Linked DNA regions of Homo sapiens: regions 1, 2, 4 and 5 are each linked to region 3. Evidence: promoter capture Hi-C in 16 types of primary human blood cells and fetal thymus (Javierre and others, 2016). All regions are on one chromosome and are shown on one strand. The core of a region is centred on a gene start or on the middle of the fragment in contact, and the rest is flanking DNA. Distances in the headings are between cores, read along the strand shown. Region 1 has its middle 12 kb from the start of LINC01738. Region 2 has its middle 30 kb from the start of LINC01738. Region 3 holds the start of FOXE3 (forkhead box E3). Region 4 overlaps LINC01738 (long intergenic non-protein coding RNA 1738). Region 5 has its middle 65 kb from the start of LINC01738.

The links. The method cuts DNA at HindIII sites, captures the fragments that hold promoters and counts their contacts. A CHiCAGO score of 5 or more calls a contact.
Region 1: a contact is called between a fragment that was not itself captured here and the fragment with the promoter of FOXE3 in region 3, in 1 of 17 cell types (non-activated CD4 T cells). The highest score is 5.9, in non-activated CD4 T cells.
Region 2: a fragment that was not itself captured here is called in contact with the fragment with the promoter of FOXE3 in region 3 in 16 of 17 cell types (naive CD8 T cells, megakaryocytes, M0 macrophages and 13 more); the score reaches 16.0 in naive CD8 T cells.
Region 4: a contact is called between a fragment that was not itself captured here and the fragment with the promoter of FOXE3 in region 3, in 16 of 17 cell types (M0 macrophages, naive CD8 T cells, total CD8 T cells and 13 more). The highest score is 12.9, in M0 macrophages.
Region 5: a contact is called between a fragment that was not itself captured here and the fragment with the promoter of FOXE3 in region 3, in 3 of 17 cell types (erythroblasts, total CD8 T cells and activated CD4 T cells). The highest score is 5.7, in erythroblasts.

The regions. Positions count from the first base shown.
Region 1 is chr1:47,675,047-47,677,746 of GRCh38, forward strand. No RefSeq gene overlaps it. Among named protein-coding and RNA genes, the nearest start is that of LINC01738, 12 kb to the right of the region's middle. The HindIII fragment of the contact is 6,490 bases long and covers 1-2,700 here.
Region 2 is chr1:47,716,959-47,719,658 of GRCh38, forward strand. No RefSeq gene overlaps it. Among named protein-coding and RNA genes, the nearest start is that of LINC01738, 30 kb to the left of the region's middle. The HindIII fragment of the contact is 2,620 bases long and covers 33-2,652 here.
Region 3 is chr1:47,414,889-47,417,588 of GRCh38, forward strand. FOXE3 (forkhead box E3) reads left to right here and starts at 1,397. Exons shown (of 1, transcript NM_012186.3): 1 at 1,397-2,700. The coding sequence starts at 1,428. The coding sequence ends at 2,387. The region is part of intron 1 of LINC01389 (long intergenic non-protein coding RNA 1389); the gene reads right to left. The HindIII fragment of the contact is 18,012 bases long and covers 1-2,700 here.
Region 4 is chr1:47,696,352-47,699,051 of GRCh38, forward strand. All of the region lies in intron 2 of LINC01738 (long intergenic non-protein coding RNA 1738), which reads left to right. Among named protein-coding and RNA genes, the nearest start is that of LINC01738, 9.2 kb to the left of the region's middle. The HindIII fragment of the contact is 3,165 bases long and covers 1-2,700 here.
Region 5 is chr1:47,752,325-47,755,024 of GRCh38, forward strand. No RefSeq gene overlaps it. Among named protein-coding and RNA genes, the nearest start is that of LINC01738, 65 kb to the left of the region's middle. The HindIII fragment of the contact is 669 bases long and covers 986-1,654 here.

The sequences.
Region 1 (2,700 bases), core at 77-2,576, 260 kb after region 3:
CACACAATTCAAATCCATATCTGTCTGACTCTTAATTACCAATAATAATTATCAGGATCATCAATACCTTTTACTGAATAGTAACTGTGTAGGGCTTTACCTAGGTTAGTTCTTGTAGTCCACTTAATTCTTTCAACCACCACCTTTGTTCTCTGCAGTCAATGCAGTCAACACTTCTGGAAATAAAAAGGACATTCTCCTGCAGGAGGCAGCACTAGAAAGGTGGGGTGGGAACAAGTAGAGTGGCAGTCAGATGGCAAGGCAGGCTCAGTCTCCCTCACATGGTCTCAGCTCCTTGGGCTTCTGTGGATGGTCCACAGGGAGTCTCTGAGGCTCTCTTTGTCCCTGTCCTCCTGACTGCATGCCCACTGAAAAGTGTTGGTGGGCCTTTCTGGACGGCAGGTCTGAGCACCACCCATGGGAAGCACTGGCTCTCAGGCAGGGCTATCCAAGAGAGCCCCAGGAGGTGACAGCAGAGGTGCAGGACCCTGGCAGGGAGGCCGCGACTCCTGCCTCTCCTCCTCATACCACACCCACACCAATCTGTCTGCAAATCCTGTGCACTCTACCTTTGAAACATCTAGAACCTGACAGTTTCTTACCACCTCCACAGCTAGCACCCTGGTTGGTCCAAGTCACCACCATCTCTTGTCACACCTATGGCAGTCACCTCCTAAATAAAGTAAGTCGTTTCACATCACTCCTCTGCTCAAAGCCCTCGCTGATTCCTTATTTCACTCAGAGCCCGAACCAGCACCTACATGGGCCTGCGGGACCCGCAAGGCCTGGCCCCTCTTCCAGTCCTGCCCTCATCTCCCACTGGGCCTTGTGTCCCCTCCCCTCTGGCCCACTCTTCTTGCTCTCCATGGACGTGCCAGGCCCGTTTTCCCTAGCGTCCTCACAGCTCGCTCCTCCACACTCTCAAGGCCTCTCTGCTGGGTCTTCCCTGAACTGGGCTGGTGTGAGCACCCTGCTTAAAATCACCAGCCTCCTAGCACTCTCTCCTCCTCCCCTGCCGCTTGTATTCACAGCTCCCATTCCCGCCTGCCATGCCATACATTGCAAGCCTTTGTTTCTTATTCTCTTTCTCCTCTCACTAGGAAGCAAGCTCCGTGAGGGTACATTTCTTCCGTTGTGTTCACTGTGGTATCCCCAGCAACAGGAGGACTGCCTGGCACTTAGTAGAGGCTCAATAAATAGTTACTGAGTGGATTCCTGTCCTAGTGGAGGCTGGACTTCCTAGCTTTCAAACTGGAGTCTGATGCTATGAAAAACACAGTGGTCCTTGGCCTCAGAGAAAGTGGGATCCTTTCCTTTCTTCTCTTCCTCCCCATCAGCTCAGCCAGGATTCCTGATAGCTCCCGCTTCACCAGCCCTCCATCATCACCACCACTGCAGCCCCCCCACAAAAGGGCTCTTTCCTCCACCTCCCTGGGCTCCCCTCACAGCCACCCACACCAGGCCTTCGACACAGTCCCCCTCCCTTGGGGACCCAACGGACCTGTGCTCTCATCCCCTACCTGTACTTCTGAGGACTTGCTGCTATCCAGGAAGTGGGTGAGCAGGCAGGTTTGCGTGACAGGGCCTGAGATTTGAATGGCCCATACATTTGTTCTAAATGAAGGTGGAACCAACCCACGTCTTTCACTGGGGTCACAGAGATTTGGTTTTTTCACCTCAGTGTCCTGTGTGGACTGTGACAGCCTCCTCCACATTGGCCTCTCCGCCCACAGCTCTTCTTTTCTCTGTCTCCTGGCCTCTTCCTTCACTTCTTCCTAGGCCCTCACTCCCTGTCTGTCTCATCTTTCGGCTCTGTCTGGAGCTCTCCCTTGCTGTCTCTCCGGCCTTCTTGCTGCCTCTCCATGGCCCCAGCCCACGCCGCCGTCGCTTACTGCACGTGTTTACCGTCCCTTCTCCCTCCTTGCTCTGTCTTTCCCTGTCTCTGAGGCTCTCCATCACCATGTGCTTTTGTTCTTGGGCACTTCCTCTGTTCCTTCCCTGCCCAGACTCTGTCTCTGTGTCATTCTCAGTCTTTTTGACTTTTGAGCTCTCTGTGCCTGTGTCTACATCTCTGCCTCTCTTCCCCCCTCTCTGCATCCCTGTATCTCTGTTTCTGTGGCCACTCTGCAGCCTCTGAGACCAAGAGGGTCTGGTGTAGAAGGGGCAGAGAGCCAGGCCAGGCTTCCCTCCCAGCCCACGAGAGCTCTGTGGCCCTCTCAGAACCTTTATGAGGCCGTTCTGCCCGGCAGAATGTGCTTGGGCTGAGGCCTGGAGCTAAGGAAATCCATTTGTCATTTCTGATGGAAACGGCCCCTTCCCAGGAGGCCCCGGCCTCCCCGTCGCCTGCCGGTGAACTCTGTGAGCACCTGAGGGAGAGCTCCTTGCCGGGAAGAGGGTTCCACGCAGGAGCAGCTTTCCAAGGAAAACATCGCCCTTGACAGATCATGTGTCGGGAGAGAGTTGGTCCCACACACCATAAATTGCCAGCCTGACCTTCCCCCGCAGGGCCCCGCGGTTCCCGAGCTGAGGTTCTCCTGCTGGGCCAGGCTGGGTCAGCACCGCCGGACTCGACGCACAGAGAGGGAGGCCTGGGTGCAAGTGGAGCTCGAGGACGCCCAGCAGCCAGGCTAAGACGCCCCAGCCCAGGAGCCGCAGGGGAAACTGGAGCCACATTAAGGGGGCTCCCTGGGGCTTTGTAGT
Region 2 (2,700 bases), core at 93-2,592, 300 kb after region 3:
CAGTGGAATCAGATGAGCCCTTAAAAGCAGCAAGCTTTCTTTAGCCAACAGCAGAAAAGGAAGTCAGAAGAAGGAGATCTTGGAGATATTTGAAGTATGAGAATAACTTGCTGCATCATTGCTGGCTTTGAAAATGGAGAGGACCATGTGAGAAGGAAAATGAATGGCCTTAAGGAGCTGATGGCTAGCAAGGAACCAGGGACTTCAGTCTACAACTGCAAAGAACTGGATTTTGCCAACATCCTGATTGAGCTTGGAAGGGCATTTTTCCCAGAGCCTTCCCATAAGACCCCAGATGGCTAACACCTTGATTTTAGCCTGTGAGACCCAGGGCAGAAGACTCACATAAGCCCACCCGGATTTCTGGGCTACACAATTATACCATAGTAAATAGGTACTGCTATAAGTTGCTAAATTTATGGTAATTTGTTTCATAGCAATAGAAAACTAATATGCCTAGCCTGTGTTCACTCTCTCAGAATTATCTTGATTTTTTTTTTTTCCTAATCAACCTAAGAGATGAATCATCACAGAATAGGGAAAGAATACAGTATTGAACACAAATACACCTGGGTTCCAATCCTGGCTCAGTCACCTACTAGCCATGTGACTTCAGCCAAGTTACATAACCCTTCTAGGAAGAGCTTTATTCATCAATAAAATATGAGGATGATAACTTTCCTGGTCAGTTTGCTTGGAAAATTAAATATAATGCACATTGCATGTCTGACACATAGTAGGGGCTTAAATGTTTCTTTTACTTGTTTGGGATAGCAATAAGCTAATATTAAGTAGTCAGTTTAAAGATGTTAGAGTAAGTGCAGTTATTTTTTTCACTACCATCATTAATAGTCGGACAATTTTAATAGCACATCACTGACTTGACCTAGAGGGAGAGCTACTAGTGGAATTGAGGCCATGCTGATGAAGAGGGGTACTTGGTAGAGTGCCCAACATCACAGATCTCTAAGCCTATGTCAGAGTCTGGGTCTTGGATTAGTCACTGGACACACTATGAGACCAGGAGGAAGGAAATAAGCGGTGAAAATGACCCAAAGTTAAATTGAGAAATACATGCTGTACTCTGGAAATGAAATCACCTGATCTCCCTTTCTGGACCCAGGGAGCAGGTGACCCCAGCCACGGCTTCTTCTTTCAGGAACTGCAAAGCAGGCAGGACTGAGCTCATACTGCCACATCCTGCTCAATCTAGGAGGGTATCAGGAACCAAGCCATTTCCCTTTCTTCTCCCCAAGTCTAAACTTTACAAGTTATCAGAGAGAGCATAGAACAAGCAATCTTGAGTGTGTGGAGAAGGAAGACCTATTGAACTTTTCAGAGCTCTTCGGGGTTCAGCATTTTGTCCCTCTCCTTTTCCTCCTATCCTCATAGCCCCACTCCTCATCTACATGGACCCTTGGGGCCGTTGGATTTGGTGGTATCCTGTAAAGGTCTCCAGGCTTGTCAGAAAGCCTAGGTTCTGGTCCGTGGTGTGCAGAGCTTGTTTGCACCCACTGGCCAGAGCTGACCGTAAGTGCCTCTATTCAACTGCACTATCAAGTGATCTCACTTCAGTTTGAAATCTGCCATGGTGAGAACACACCATAGAAACTGGCAAAGACTGCAAATCAGGCTTTCTCTTCTCTAGAGAGCTGGTGTTAAATTTACCAGTAGACTGATGCTTCTAGCCTTGGCGGCCTGGGAAGAGGCAGATTCCTGCCCTTTTCTGGGCCTCAGTTCCCTCTTTAGTCAGTGCCTTAGCTACCCTCTAAGGGCCTTTAAAAAAAGCTCATTAGATACCAAAGAAAAGAGAGAAAGTGTGGATAACAAAATTATTGCTTTCATGGTAATACTTTCACAATAAAAATAGGGTTCACAATAGTCACATTTAGAAAGAGCTCTCTCTTTGCTAAATACCATGCTATGTATGTCATCTAAGGCCCTCCCTTGCCTTACTTAACCCCCCCTCACACCTGATTCAATCAGCTAGTGAGGTACGCAGGGCTGAAGATTTTTCCCCACTTGGCTCTGAAATTTGAGTGTCTGCATATGATTCTGGGCTCCACCACTTTCTCAGTTAGTTTGACTAAGTTATTTAATTTCTTTGTCTCTTGTTTCCTAACATGTAAAATGGAACAATAATAAAAGTTTCTACTTCTTCAGGTTGTTATGAGTATTAAGTGAGAAAACCCATGTAAAATGCTTGGATTAGTGTCAGTCACACAGTAAGGGCTAAAGGAATGTTGAGAAATGTCTTAACATTGTCTATCCCTGCATCTGTGGAGCCCACACAGGCCTGTTCCATGGTAGATGCCTAATAAATGTTTGTATTGGAAAAGAAGGGAGGCCAATAGACAAAAATGACAGAGAGAAATATTTGTATTAATAACTAAATGAATCTTTCATGTTTACTCACCTCGGTCTTTCCCATTTACTTTCACCAACTTATCTCATGACCGCCCTCATAGATGTTCTACAAAGAGTTGGAAATTCATTTACGTAGTCACTCAACAAATATTAATTGAGCCCCTCTGGTGCCAGGTCCTGGCTAGATGCTGAGGCTACCATTGGGAATGAGCTCTGGGTTTAGCTGGCGTTAGAATCGTGGAGTCCTTGGTCTTCTGTTGGGCAGACAGGCTCTGAGGGGCCACAAGCTTTGTGCTTGCAGGTACAAGGGGTGATGTGCTATGTTCCACTGCC
Region 3 (2,700 bases), core at 147-2,646:
CCATGCTTTGAGTTTGGATTTTGAACTGGATTTTGAGTTTGGAGTTTACAGGCCTGCTGTAACTAGCTTTGGTCACCTATACCTAGGGACACTCTATAGCATGGCTGGGGGACTAGGATGGGGCAAGTGAGATGCCCCAAATGTAAGGAGGCCCTGGCTCTCAAGTGCTGACTGCACTTGCAAGGCCCTGAGACTGAGCTCCCCTTAAACTCAGCACCTCAGGCACCTCAGTGGGCTCACTGTCCTTCCAGCCCTGCTCCATGTCCAAGTCCCTTGATCTGCCTGTCCCCAGGACAACCCACTTTAAGACAAGGCTCCTTCACCCTGTAGTTCCCTTGGAGCTGGGGATGGGTCTCCTGTCTCTTGGGAGAAGAAGTTTCCCAAAATAGGCTGGGTGCTGCATCCCCCTGGATGCCAGTTGTGGGTGGAACTTCTCAGACTGAGTTTTTAACAAACACTGCCAAAGACCCCCCATCCCCAGTGAGATGTGAGTGTGGTGTTTCTGGGTCAGAAGGCGGCTTTTTCAGACCCCCAGTCTGTGGAAGCCTACATTTTGTACTGTGTGTGTGGGTGTATGTGTGTGTGTGTGTATGTGAAGAAAAGCTGTTTTCTTTAACAGGGGGGTGTGGAGAGGAGGCAGCCAGAAAGGCAGCTCCAAGTTGTGGATTTCCTGGGGGCTCTTCATTTAAAGCGGCCGCACCACTTTCCACAATTCTGTTTTTTCAGAGAATGCTCTCAAGGCCTGGAGGGAGGGCATGACAGGGGTATGGGGGAGGGGGGTGGCAGAGAGGCAAGATGGTGACCCTGATCTGGAGCAGTCAAACATTCTCCCAGAGACAAAACCGGCCTGGCTCTGCCCTGCCCCGCTGCTTCATTACCTTGGCCCAGGTTCCCTAATGTCTGTGAGTGGGCCTGACACCTCCCCATCAGGATACTGAGGGCTGGCAAGGCGGCCTTCATCTCTGTTCCAGCTGGGGATGGAAGGCCAGGAGAAGGATGGGGGGACCGACTACTGGGAGGAGCAAAATGGGGAGGAGCAAAATGGGGAGGGGGCTGGGAGAGTGAATGGGTGGATTTGTGATTGGGAATGATCCAAAGGAGAGGGGGTAGAAGGAGGGGTGGAAAGGGAAGGGGACTGACCAAATACAGTGGGATGGGGCCAGGGGCTGATATAACCGAGATGGGGAAGGGGTGAGTCTGGGTCTGGGAAAAACTGATCCAAAGGCAGAAAGGGAGGGGCGAAATGGAGGAGGGTACCGTGAACAGAGTAAGGGGGCTGGGAGAGGAAATTAGAGGGGAGGCGCTGGCCAGCAGGCAAGGCCTGAGCCCTCTCCCCCGGCGGTGGTTGGGGGGGGGCCGTGTCCATATAAAGCGGGTCGGCGGCCCCTGCGGTCCCGGAGCCGCGCGGGCAGGGGCTGCCGCAGCCGATGGCGGGGCGCAGCGACATGGATCCGCCCGCCGCGTTCTCTGGCTTCCCTGCCCTGCCAGCGGTCGCGCCGTCGGGGCCGCCGCCGTCGCCGCTCGCAGGAGCCGAGCCAGGGCGGGAGCCAGAGGAGGCGGCGGCTGGCCGCGGAGAGGCGGCCCCCACGCCCGCGCCCGGCCCGGGGCGGCGGCGGCGGCGGCCCCTGCAGCGCGGGAAGCCGCCCTACTCGTACATCGCGCTCATCGCCATGGCTCTGGCGCACGCCCCGGGCCGCCGCCTCACGCTGGCCGCCATCTACCGCTTCATCACCGAACGCTTTGCCTTCTACCGCGACAGCCCGCGCAAGTGGCAGAACAGCATCCGCCACAATCTCACGCTCAACGACTGCTTCGTCAAGGTGCCCCGCGAGCCGGGCAACCCGGGCAAGGGCAACTACTGGACGCTGGACCCCGCGGCCGCAGACATGTTCGACAACGGCAGCTTCCTGCGGCGCCGCAAGCGCTTCAAGCGCGCCGAGCTGCCCGCGCACGCGGCCGCGGCGCCAGGGCCGCCGCTCCCCTTCCCCTACGCGCCCTACGCGCCCGCGCCCGGCCCCGCGCTGCTGGTGCCGCCGCCTTCTGCCGGACCGGGCCCCTCGCCGCCCGCGCGTCTGTTCAGCGTCGACAGCCTGGTGAACCTGCAGCCGGAGCTAGCGGGGCTGGGCGCCCCCGAGCCGCCCTGCTGCGCCGCGCCCGACGCCGCAGCCGCAGCCTTCCCGCCCTGCGCTGCCGCCGCCTCCCCGCCACTCTACTCGCAGGTCCCCGACCGCCTGGTACTGCCCGCGACGCGCCCCGGCCCCGGCCCGCTGCCCGCTGAGCCCCTCCTGGCCTTGGCCGGGCCGGCAGCCGCTCTCGGCCCGCTCAGCCCTGGGGAGGCCTACCTGAGGCAGCCGGGCTTCGCGTCGGGGCTGGAGCGCTACCTGTGAGCCTGCGCCGCGCGGGCAGGCACCTGTGCGACCTGTGCCCCGGACCTGCGGCGCCGCCCTCGAGCGCCCCATCTCTACCCCCCACCCTGGCTTGGAGCACACCCTGCGCCTCTCGTCGTGGCCTCCTGGACTCAAACTCCTGCTACATCCTTCTCCGTCCCCCATCCCTGGGGAGGCTCCCACCATCTCGCCACTGGACAGAAGCGTCCCCTTTGACCTGCCAGCCTCTCATTTCTTCTCCCTCCACTTGTGAGCGCCCCCAGCTTTGCGGCGCCCCCCACCCCAGCGCTGTCTGTGGGTCCCTTGCCCCGGA
Region 4 (2,700 bases), core at 127-2,626, 280 kb after region 3:
AGATTCTAAAACCATGAGACTTTAAAACCATTCCATATTCCTAAGGTTACAGAGAATTTGAGATTATGGGACTTATATTAATAATTGCAAATGTCCAGGATGAAACAGTTCTAGGGCATACTTTTTCTGCAAAGGACCAGGTTGTAAATATTTTCCTTTGGCTTGGCAGGCCATAAGGTCTCTTGTCACATTACTCAACTCTGCTGTTGTAGCCATATCTAAACAAATGGGTTCCAATAAAACTTTATTTACAAAAGCAGGTGGCAGGTGGATTTGGCCCTTGTGTTATAGTTTGCTGATCCCTGTTCTTGATGCATTGTCTGCTCTGCTGAGCGCCTTGGTGGGGGCTCCCTTCAGGACTGAGCCCCAGAGGAGCCCAGCTGTGCCCCTCATTTGGAGATGCAGAGGGGTCTGCGGGGGCCAGGCTGGCTCCCAGGGTGCGGGTGCCTCTGAGTGTGGCTCTCCCTTTCTGTCCTAAAGAGGCTGTTGAAAAGGCTCCTCTCTCCAGCAGTGGCGCCTCATTACTCATGGTTGGAAAACAATGTTAATTTCCCCCAAGCGGGAAGCAGCTGCACTTGTGAGCCAGGGCTCATTTTGCTGCATGAATATTTATGGCATGTCCCCTAATTAAGCTCAGAAATAAAATTTATCCTGCTAACAGGGTCCACAGAAGACTGGAAGGCCATGTCAGGAACCAGCCTCTTATGCCTGTGAAGTAGGTTTGTCAATGAAACATTTGTTTCCAGAGCCACTTGGCCAGGGACAGTGTCCACAGTAGCATTTCCTGGAAGGTCAAGCACCCTTTGTGTAGTCACATGCTTGTGCAAGGGGACACCTACACTACCTTGCTGAGCAGTGATGGATGGCTATTGTCCCAGGCCTGCATGTGGTGACACAGAGGTGACTCTAGGCCAGAGCCCTTAGCAATACTTCTTTTCTTTTAGCCAGTGTGACTCAGGTATTTTCTGATTGGGTGTCAAAGGCCACTCCAGTATAAATAGCCCAGTGAGAAAGCGCCCTGGAGTGGGAACCAGGAAAGATGGGTTTGAGTTGCTCCCCTGACACTGATTCTAGCTGACCAGGGGCCGGCCTGCCTGCTCTCCCAGCCTCAGGCCCCCATTTCGTTAAAATGATGGCGGACTGTCAACATCATGTAGTTACTGGGAATCATGGGAGACCATGGAAGATAAAGTCTTTTGGGGAATGATTCTCACCATGATTTGGAATTTCCTTTACCTCCAGGCCCTCCCTCCCTTAAATCCCCAGAACCAAGGAAAGCCTAGGCCTAGGCCAGTAACCTTGAGGGCTTCCGGAAACCATAAATCTTGGCCTTTCCTTGAGGGGTCCTATCTCCAGAGAACTGCCTGGGCCCTCATATCCTCTTCCACAAAGCCAATAAACCAAGCAAACACCATAAAGCTCCTCACCCCACCTGAGCTTTCCCCCACGGTCAGAGTCGGACCTGGTCAAGAGTCATGAGTTTCAGAACATGGCTATAAAATTGCACGTGGCTCCTCCCCATTTCCTTTCCAGAATGGAACTTACCTTTGCTTTCTCTCTTCCATCCTCTTTTTGATAAGTTTCCTCTTTAATTTCTTTCCAGCACCTGAGAGATCCCATCTTGCGTTCCCAGCCTCACCTCCCAGTTGCTGGTGGGGGCTTGGAGAGGAGGATGCTTTCCTAAGGCAGGTCCGGGGGTGTAATCAACCAGGGGCCTTGGCAACTGGCACACCTTGTAAATTCAAAAGTCAACAAGATGTGGAAGCAAAGGAGACCCTGGGGCTGGAGAGGAGGAAGTGGGGAGGTGAGGGTGGGCCTTATCTTGTGAAGTCGGTCAGGGGTGGCTTCTGTGCCCTCTGCCTCCCCTGGTGGGGCCTGCCCCACCCCCTGGAGCCTGGAACTTCCTGCTCTCATTCTTCACCTTCACATCCTGAGCTCAGAACTGATCACAGCTACAGCCTGGACCCTGGAAGGGGCCCTAGAGGCTTTCTCTCCCACACCCTCTCACTACAGATAGGGAGGCTGAAAAAACTGGGAGGGCCTTGCCCTAGGTCAGTGTCAGAGTGGAAATAACACTGGGCTGGGGCCAGGAGACCGGGTCTCTGGTTCTTGCCTGGGCTGAGTCCAGACCTCAGTTGCAGACTGTAGCCTTACCTCTAACCCCTAGGTTACCATGAGATGGGAGGAAAGATCACAGCTTCTTAGGGCCCATCTCAACCACAGAACCATATGAACCACTTAATGGCTATTTGCATCCGGGACACACTCTTCACTGAAAAAGGATGCCATGATCTTACCAATTTGGAAGTTTGGTGCAGTGGGCTTATTAGAGCACTGTAGCAGAGGTGTGACATTCACAAAAGTCACTTTAACCTCTCTGGACTTGAGCTTCCTCATCTGTAAAATGAGGATAATAATCCCCCTCGCCCCCCTCCACCCACTGCCAACTATCCCCTCAGCTTCTGATGAGGGTCAAAGGAGATACTGATTCAGTCTTTTGTTAGATGAATGTGTTTACATGTGAAAGAATAAATATTAAAATTATACCTATTGTTTTGTTATTATTTGGTGTTTACTCTCCTTCCTGGCTAGCCAGAAAGAGCTGGTGTTTTTTGAAGACCTAAGCCCGGGAGCAAATTTTTCCTGGTCAAAGAGGCCAAGAGTGGGCCCAGGATCTCTGCCAGGACCTGCCAGGGCCCA
Region 5 (2,700 bases), core at 70-2,569, 340 kb after region 3:
CTCCGGATCCGTCCGGCCTGTGTTTATTTCTCTTTCCTGCTCTGGCAGACGGGCCTGGGCCCGCTGGGAGAGTTGGCTCAGCCCTCCCTGGCTCCTGAATTCCCTAGCCCAGCTACCACCCCCTGCATTCCTTAGGAGCCTCAGTGTCCCAGAGAGACACGATTTTTTCCATCTTCTTGAATAAAAGACTTTTAGGGACAGTCATTGATCAAATCCAAAATCCACAGTCCGGGCTTCCAAGTCCTGCTCCAGACCCTCTACTTCTCTCAGTTCCATGTGCTCTAAGACCACACCCTCGCTAACATGCTTTGCCCAGCGCCTCCTCTAGCACGTCTCTCCATGCCCTCCTTCTCTGTCATTCATACAGCCACCAATGGTCTACGGCCCCCACCCCCCTCTTGAAAGTCCTGCTGGATGGCTCCGTCTTACCCAGCCTGTCCACGCTCCACACTGCCACAGCTGTCTTCCCTGCCTCCCCTTCTGAGTACCCCCTGAGCCCACTCTCTGTGCCCCGCCCACCACTAACTCTGGCTGCACCTTCGTGCCTCTGCCCGAATGTGTGTGGAACGCTCCTAACGTGGATTTGGAGCTTCTCTTCATGTCCTGGAGACCTTAAAGGGCCCCTTCGAAAGAGGATCAAGCTGCCAGGCTGGAAGCTGCTAAGGGCAGCAACTAGTTGTTGGGCTTTAGCATTTGATGCAAATTAATTTTTTAGAAGGGGTGGCTTTAAAATTTGGGAGTTTTATTAAGAGGTTAGAGGGTAGAGAAAGATCTTGGAATCCTAACCTATCAAACTTAGAAGGCTCTTCAAAGATCATCTGCTCTAATTGCTGCATTTTTTTGAATAGGGAAACTGAAGCTCAGTAAGGAGATGCCATTGGCCTAATGTTATTTATGAAGTCAGTGGCAAAGCAGGAATGGAACTCTCTTTGGGTCCTGAATTAGTCAAAATCTTCCACTCACAGCACCTGGGGTTCTTGAGCGAAGCTTGAAGCATTGTGGAAATTCAGGGGCACATGCTTCTTCCCTCTTTCAAGAACCATGATAACATGCATTGAAGTTGATTTTGCAGATATAAAGCACTTCAGGCCTGTTGTCTCAGGTCATCGCCATTATAGCTCTATAAAGTAAGTCATATTTATCTCCATTTCCCAGATAAGGCTAATAATACCAGGGTTAAGTGACATGCCCAAGGAAAAATAACCAGTAGGTAGCCAAAGAGGGTCTTGGGCTCAGGCCTGTTGCTATGTGCAATGTGTCACTCTACCTCCTATTCCTCGAAAGGTGCTCCACTCTTTTAGAAAATCATGCAGAAAAGGCTGCAGTAGAAAATAGAATAGCTCCAGGATCCAGGGACTGGTACAACAGCTCAGGACATTTCATTTCTCGTAGTGGAAAGAAACATCTAGAACAGGGGCTCTTTATCCTTTCAGACCCAGGATCCCATTTTATCACAAATACTTTAAAGTGTCCCTTCTGTACTGAAATGAAACTTATGAATAATATAACACACCTACACATATGATTTTTTAAAAATTAATTCAGTGCCCTAACTATAAGGAAAAAGAAATAGTAGCTTATAATAAAATAATATGTAATTTGGTTTGTCCACACTTGGGTACATCAACACTTGTAGACATAATGTAATAGTCAAAGCTTGTACCTAACTGTTGAGTCACCCTGAAAGTGACAGCTAAAATACCAAGGAGTACAGCTGTGTGTCTCTCTGACACCCGGAATACACAGGCATTGTTGTTAGTAAGGTGGCACTCAAAAATAGTGAACAACTCTTGGTAAAGTTCAGAACAAAATGAAGCACATTCTTCTCTCAATATACATGGCAATTACATTCCTGTAAGATTTAGTGCACATTAAACCTTTACAAACAAATACTACGTGTTTACGTAAAATGGATTCAGGTTCTAGGCTCAGATAATTACAAATGATTTTTTTTTCTCCCCTAATGAATGTTTGGCAAAACATGCAAAAATTTTGCAGGATGGGGGATAATTCTTTATGTGGGGCTCTTAGCAGGTCACTAAGTGTCGCTAGCCCTTGACCACAACTACCCCCGCACCACCCCGCCCCTGCAACAGCTGTATGAAAGCCAAAAACTCCCCGACGAATTCCCAAAGCATCCTATGGGTGTTGATACTACCCCTGCTGAAAAACACTAATTTGGAGATTTTCTCTGAGAAGCCAGGCATGAAAGAGGGAAGGCTCAGACCTCTATTGTACCTAGATGTTTGGATTTCTCTCAGTTTTGCTTTTGATGAACATAATTTAATACTAACCTTGGATGATGCTTAGTCTTCAGACTTAAAATTAATGCAATAAATGTTGACCACGTGTCCTCTATTTTAAAGACTATTCATCCAGGGGATGGAAAAATGAATATGACCTGGGCTCTGCATGCACGGCTTTCCCTTTATCATATTCTAAGGGTGATAAGCCATACGAAACCCATCATCTAAGACTGGATGCATACAAAGGCTGGGGCTTCAGGAGAGGTGGAAGTGTGAGCCCGGGGGACCAGAGCACGCTTCTACGAGGAAGCACAAATTAAGTGAGGCCTTGAATACCAGGAAAGAAGTTTTCAGGTGAAAATAGGGGGAATGAGCAGCTAGCTGTGGAAGGGACAGTGGGGATGGAGATGGAGTTGGGAAATTGCAGATACGTTCAGGGAGCCCGAGTAGCTCT